Linked DNA regions of Homo sapiens: region 1 is linked to region 2. Evidence: promoter capture Hi-C in human tissues and cell types (Jung and others, 2019). All regions are on one chromosome and are shown on one strand. The core of a region is centred on a gene start or on the middle of the fragment in contact, and the rest is flanking DNA. Distances in the headings are between cores, read along the strand shown.

Region 1 (3,195 bases), core at 332-2,831, 1.3 Mb before region 2:
TACTATGTAGTAATTAAACTGAAAATATTATATTTGTACATGCTTTCTGCCCCTCAGCAAAACATATTTAAAATATTCTTGGAGGTGATTTTTAAAATTTTGCACTTTTGTACTGCAATTCCACCTGAGTAACATTCAAGCAATATTTTGAGAAGATGATTAGGTTTTTTTTGTTTTCTTTTGTTTTTATTTTTGTTTTGAGACAGATTCTCTGTCACCCAGGCTAGTGTGCAGTGGCCCAATCTCTGCTCACTGCAACCTTGGCCTTCTGGGTTCAAGTGATTCTCATGCCTCAGCCTCGCAAGTAACTGGGACTACAGGTGCACACCACCACACCCAGCTAAATTTTTTGTATTTTTAGTAGAGATGGAGTTTCACCATGTTGGCCAGGCTGGTCTCGAATTCCTGGCCTCAAGTGATCCACCCACCTCAGCCTCCCAAAGTGCTAGCATTACAGGCATGAGCTGCTGCATCTGGCTGATGATTAGTTTTTTAAGTCTCATATTGGGTGGGTCCTGGAAAGAAGTCGTTTTGTGATTCACTTCTGTGTTCAGTCTGAAGTCTCACTTGGATGGTTAAGGCTTGCCCTGTGGCCTGGGAGCCATCTTTACAAACTGTGTACAATGACAGCCTCCTTGGTCATTCATGTTGGCTGAAGCCATCTCTGCAGTTGTACCAGCCATGTATCATGTATGAGTCCTGGGGCTTAAGTCATTCAGGGATGCTCAGATCAACTGGCATTGGTCAGAAAGCCCTGTATTCCTGTTTGCAGATAAATGAAGAGGAGAAAATGCAAAGAAAAGAAAACAGGTTTGGTTTACTCATTGTTGCATATTTGGGCTGATTAGCTTTATTAAAGAAAGGGTATTTATACTTTTTCTGCATTGGATATGGATGAGGAAATGTCCAGATCACAGAGTTTTGTGGTTCCTCTTCATAGATGTATCTGCCTCACATGAGGCCCCAAGAAATAGGACAAGAAAGATTCAGAGGAGGGAAGGGTCTAAGAGGTACAAGCTTATGGCACAAATCTGCATTGGTGGTCTGTATCTGGAGTTATTGGCACTGTTGGCTGTTCCCTTTGCTCCTACGATAACTTGCCCTCATCTTTGTTTGCAAAGCCCCAGGGTCTGATCTGAAGCTGTGACCTTTCTTCTAAGAGAGTTATTGAGTTTGGGTTATTCCCTGTTTCCTTACTCTATAGACCTTGCTGTGTAGGAAGCTTTGTTCTTTTCACCAGAGTAGAAGGCTTTTAGGCTCCTTTGCAATTCTCAATGCCTGGTAGTGAGTTGGGCAAGAGATGCCAAATGCTCAAAGACTCTTATCTGTTTCGAGCATACCAGAGCCAGAGGATTGTCAGGATTTCATGACCCTCTGATGATGATGTACTTTAAATCCTAAGTCAGTGACCAATTCTGCTCTTGCTTTCAAATTTCTTTTTTGTAAGCAGCAAAGTCTACTTTTCTTGCAAATGAACTCTCACCTAGAACGTAGTACCTCAAATGGATTAAGGTACAGTTTCTAAGACTGGCCTACTCCTTGCTTTCTACAATAGATGTTGAGGCACTTTCTTGGAACCCCAGGATTTCAGGGTCCATGCTTTGAGGAGTATTGCCATTAAGCATCCTTCTCCACTGCCTTGAAGCTAAGGGAAAAGTACTGTAGTTCACAAAAGACAGAAAGGTCCTGGAGTAGGGTCTTCTGATTCCCTGCATGCTTTGAACTTCATTTCTTGCAGCTTCTCTGGAACCCCTGTTTTGTCCCCTTGTCACAAATCCCTTGTTAGAAATCCTCAGTCAAAATTCCTCATTTTGCAGATGGATAACAGAGGAAGGCTTTGAAAGAGGGAGTTGTCAGAGCTAGCTATCCATGCATTCATTTATAAATATTTCTTGAGCACCTGTTACATCACATTTTTTATTAGGTACTTTATTAGATATGGATCTTGGCCTCACAAAGCTTATAATCTGAATACAAATAATTATCAGCAACATGATTACTATAACATGTGAGGTATAAGATACTACAGGGCACACGGTAGTTATACTTAAACTGGATAAAGGACAAGTAGAAATTAAACATCTAGAGAAAGCAGGGGAGGGCCATCTTCCACGCAGAGGGAACAACCTATGCAAAGGCCCAGAGATGGGCAAGTCCTGAGCCTACGGGTAGGGGTTCCCTAGGGTGTAGAGAGTGAGACCAGAGGAGACTGGAAGCTGTGAAAATGAAAGTCTGGTCATATGGGCCTCATCAGCCATATTGAGGGGTTTGGATCTAACCCTCAAGGAGGTAGGGGATGGTTTGAAGTGGGTAAAGCACAGTGGAGGATGAGGTGGCCTCTGTGGGGCTTCCATGGCATTAAAAACCCAGCCTGTATGCATGGCACTTTGCAATCCAGCATCACTTACTGAGAATAAATGTGGATGCCTTTGCAGCATGATGCTTCACCCCTCGGGGCAAGGAGATCAAGCCACAACGTGGGTGTTAAACAGATTAGTTTGGTCAATAGTTTAATTCTGGCAGCAGCTGAATGACATTATAAAGAATGCAGTGGCATTTCTACTGGAAATGTCTGCCATCGTTTTCTTCATGTCATGAGGAAAATAAAGGCTTCCCAACTCCAGGAATGAATTAGCATGAAAGATGCCCATCAATCTCCCTGTGAAGAATCACTGTGCTGCAGAATTGCTTTAACACAGAGGAGGAAGAGATGATAATTGAGCAGGATGGTGTGCAGCCCACTGATAGTCTTGTGTCAAAAACCCCATCTCTTTTCAGGATTTAGGTTGGGTCTGGATGTCCCTGTTGAGCTGTGGCCTTGGGTCAGCCCAACAGTCCAAGATCCAGGAGCCTGGTGAGGCGTGCTCCAAGTGGGAAGAAGGCTGCCCGCACCATTTCTGGTGCTCTCTGGGGGGAGACCTAGTGTCCTTGAGGGCTAGACTTCTTTTGGTTCTGAGCTTCTCACAAAAGGCTTTTGTTTCCACATATTCCTTTCTCAGTTCTTGAAGTTGGCTTGTCTTTCTCCTTTCTTTGGCACAGTTGTCCTCAAAATGTGATCCCTGTACCAGCAGTATTAGACATGCAAATTTTGCAGCTCCACCTTAGACATGCTGAATCAGTACTTCTGATGATAGAGCCAGAAACCTGTGTTTTCCCAAGCCTTCCAGGTGATTCTAAAGGATGCTCAAGTGGAGA
Region 2 (3,186 bases), core at 274-2,773:
GCTGAGAATATAGGGGTGAACTGGACCCATAAAGCCCTGGAGTATATATCCTGGTGGGAGAGGCAGATAAAAGATCTGCAGAAAAACAGGAGTTCAGGAGGATTAAGAGCTGAAATCAGGAGGCAGACTTCTGGGCTTGAATACAAATTCTGCGGCTTCCTGGCTTTGTGGTTTTGGGCAAATTACCTGCCTCTCTATGCCTCAGTTTCTCCATCTGTAAGATAATAAGAATAATTATAGTACTTCATAGAGTTACACTGAGATTGCTTTTTTGACTCATAGTGATTAAACACAGCCATACTGAAGGGCCAGGAAGCTAAGATGTAGACAGTGTTTTAAAGGGTAAAAAATGGTGATGACAAATTACTCCCCACCTCATTTGGCAGCCGAGTGTATTACATGGCTTAATGCATGTAAAGTACTTAGAAATGTTGCTAGTATGGTCAGGCCCAGTGGCTCATGCCTGTAATCCCAGAACTTTGGGAGGCCAAGGCGGGCGGATCACGAGGTCAGGAGTTCAAGACCAGCCTGGCCAACATAGTGAAACCTCGTCTCTACTAAAAATACAAAAAATTAGCCGGGCGTGGTGGAGGGTGCCTGTAATTCTAGCTACTCGGGAGGCTGAGGCAGGAGAATCGCTTGAACCCGGGAGGCAGAGGTTGCAGCGAACCTGGATTGTGCCACCGCACTCCAGCCTGGTGACAGAGGGAGACTCTGTCTCAAAAAAAAAAAAAAAAAAAAAAGAAATGTTACTAGTATGTAGTAAGTTCTCAGTAAATGTTAGCTACTATACTCTTTCAAGTGCTGGGTTTTTACTTGATGTCATACAGTGTTATATAAGATCTCCAAAGATACTGAGGAGTCCTCAAGGCCAATTTTAACAAGCATGGTTGCCGCATTCTTGTGCTTATAGTTGAACATTTCTTCTTTCAGACACTTGCACAAAGGGATACTTCTAAGATGCATTTGCATTAGGTGGCAAACTTCATCCTGGGTATGAAAAACATTGAGATTTGGGAATAAAGCATAGTAAGACTGAGGTTGCAATTACTAAAGGAAAACCCCAACAGAGATAAGTGAAGTTCTGCAATATCATGCACCCTCCCCCAACCCGCTCTGTCTCCCCAGGCCCCCCTTCGTTAGAACACCCATGACTGGCTATATTATATCAGCATTTCCCATAATGTAAAAAGGGAAAATACAGACCTGGGCGTTCATGGAAAGTATTCTAACTCTCACAACCAGAATCCCTGTCTTTGAATTTTTTTTCTTGGTTTTTAGATCTTTAACTTTTCCTTCAGCATTTCAGTACTCAACTTTTTGAAAATCATCTTTTCTGAGGAATGATATTTCCTGGCACAGCATCATCTCTGTCAAGTGACTCAGTTTGATTTTTTTGTTTGTTAGTATAAAGTGGCCCCAACTTACAGAGAAAAAGTGGGCTCTTGGTATCAGTTTGATGTCAGGGTTTTTCCGTGTTTGAGAGGGAGCTTTAAATACCACTCGATTTGAAGGTGTCTGCAAGCGAGCTCCAGTCCGCTGTCAAGATGCTTCTGGCCATGGTCCTTACCTCTGCCCTGCTCCTGTGCTCCGTGGCAGGCCAGGGGTGTCCAACCTTGGCGGGGATCCTGGACATCAACTTCCTCATCAACAAGATGCAGGTAGGCTGCAGGGGGAGCCCATGGGAAAGACAGCTACTGACAAAGTGAAATATGTATGAGGATGAAAAAACTCGGGGCTGACTAAAGGTTCTTATCTCTCTATCTACTTTAGGAAGATCCAGCTTCCAAGTGCCACTGCAGTGCTAATGTGAGTGAATGCTCTTTAAGAACTTTCCAAATTAATTTTAATTTTCACATCTGGAATCTTCACTCTGAAATTTCCCTTGCAGGTGACCAGTTGTCTCTGTTTGGGCATTCCCTCTGTAAGTATAGTGAAATAACATAATGTTGACCTTGGATTTTTTTGGTTTGTTTTTAAGTAAAAATAAGTTGCTTTATTTAATATTTAATGTTATACATTGTTGCTTAATTTAATTGTTACAGATTAGTATTCCCTGTTAAAACCACATTGTTACAAATTATTCCCTTTTAAAACTACGATCTTGAAATCCTATATTATGAACATTTCTTTGTATTTAATTAACTTTATGCCTCTTGAGAAGTTTGAACACTTTTCAACATTAAAAAAAGAATCCTGAATATCTTTTTAGATAGGTGGCCATGTGCACAATTAAATAAAACTGGAACTAAGGATATAATAATTGCTGTAGCTCATATCATATTGCTTTCTAACTCATTTACTGATAACTCTAGAGTTGTGAAACAATGTAAATAAAATGACAACTCCTTATCTTTCATCTGTCATGAATGATCTATGCGCTATACCTCCCCCTCCCTGCCTCCTCCCTTCCTCCCCACCACCCTGTTGTCTGTCTAGCTGATTAGAGTGACTGTTGGTTTGAATGCTGCCCTCTGGGCAGGTAGAGGATCTGAGGTTGTGAGTGGAAGGAGGGCTTCCAGAGGGCCACTGCCCACTACGGCAGGAAGGATGGGTGGCAGGAAAGTTCTGATTCCTAATTCAAACTCCTGGTTAGGGTGAGGAGGAGGCACTTCTCCAAGGTGCAGTGCTTTATTCTTTCTCATGCAAGGCCTGGGAGAATCTGAAGAATCTGAGCTTCTTGCCCTGGCTAGGGTAAGACATCGCACCCATCGCGGTCCATCCATTAGATGAGAAGAGGATAGAGTGCCTTCTGGGCAGGAACCAGGCAGACAGCACAGCCCCTGTCCCTTGGAGTACCGTCCATGTTTTTAGCTGCTGCTGAAATACCAGCTGCATTCAATTGTCACATCCCATTAGCTGGTGTGAAAAGGCTTTTCCTCACTCTGCACTTTCAGACTTACAAGCCTTGAAGCCGGGAAGCACCCGTTGAAAAGAACATTCAGAGCCGACTATTTCAGGGCCCAGAGCCCTCATGTTTCCTGGATGTAACATACAGGAAGTCTCCTCCAGGGGATGTCACTGTGGAAAAATGGCATCCCCTTTAAATACGGGAGATCACTTCCTACATTGGCAAGGGACCTGTCTAAAAATAATGCAAGTTTGAGTAATGGTGATTAAATAAAAATCATCTCTATTATATTGCTCTTTGTGATATATTTCCAAAGCTGTCCTCAGAATATTTCT

The links. The method cuts DNA at HindIII sites, captures the fragments that hold promoters and counts their contacts. A contact is called where the count stands out against the background at its distance.
Region 1: a contact is called between a fragment that was not itself captured here and the fragment with the promoter of IL9 in region 2, in 1 of the 25 tissues and cell types used here (mesenchymal stem cells).

Annotation. Positions count from the first base shown.
Region 1 is chr5:137,225,643-137,228,837 of GRCh38, reverse strand. The region is part of intron 3 of SPOCK1 (SPARC (osteonectin), cwcv and kazal like domains proteoglycan 1); the gene reads left to right. Among named protein-coding and RNA genes, the nearest start is that of SPOCK1, 270 kb to the left of the region's middle. The HindIII fragment of the contact is 3,405 bases long and covers 1-3,195 here.
Region 2 is chr5:135,894,178-135,897,363 of GRCh38, reverse strand. It overlaps IL9 (interleukin 9), which reads left to right and starts at 1,523. Exons shown (of 5, transcript NM_000590.2): 1 at 1,523-1,661; 2 at 1,774-1,809; 3 at 1,892-1,924. The coding sequence starts at 1,548. It overlaps LOC124901074 (a long non-coding RNA gene), which reads right to left. Exons shown (of 3, transcript XR_007058947.1): 3 at 1,216-1,666. The HindIII fragment of the contact is 9,945 bases long and covers 1-3,186 here.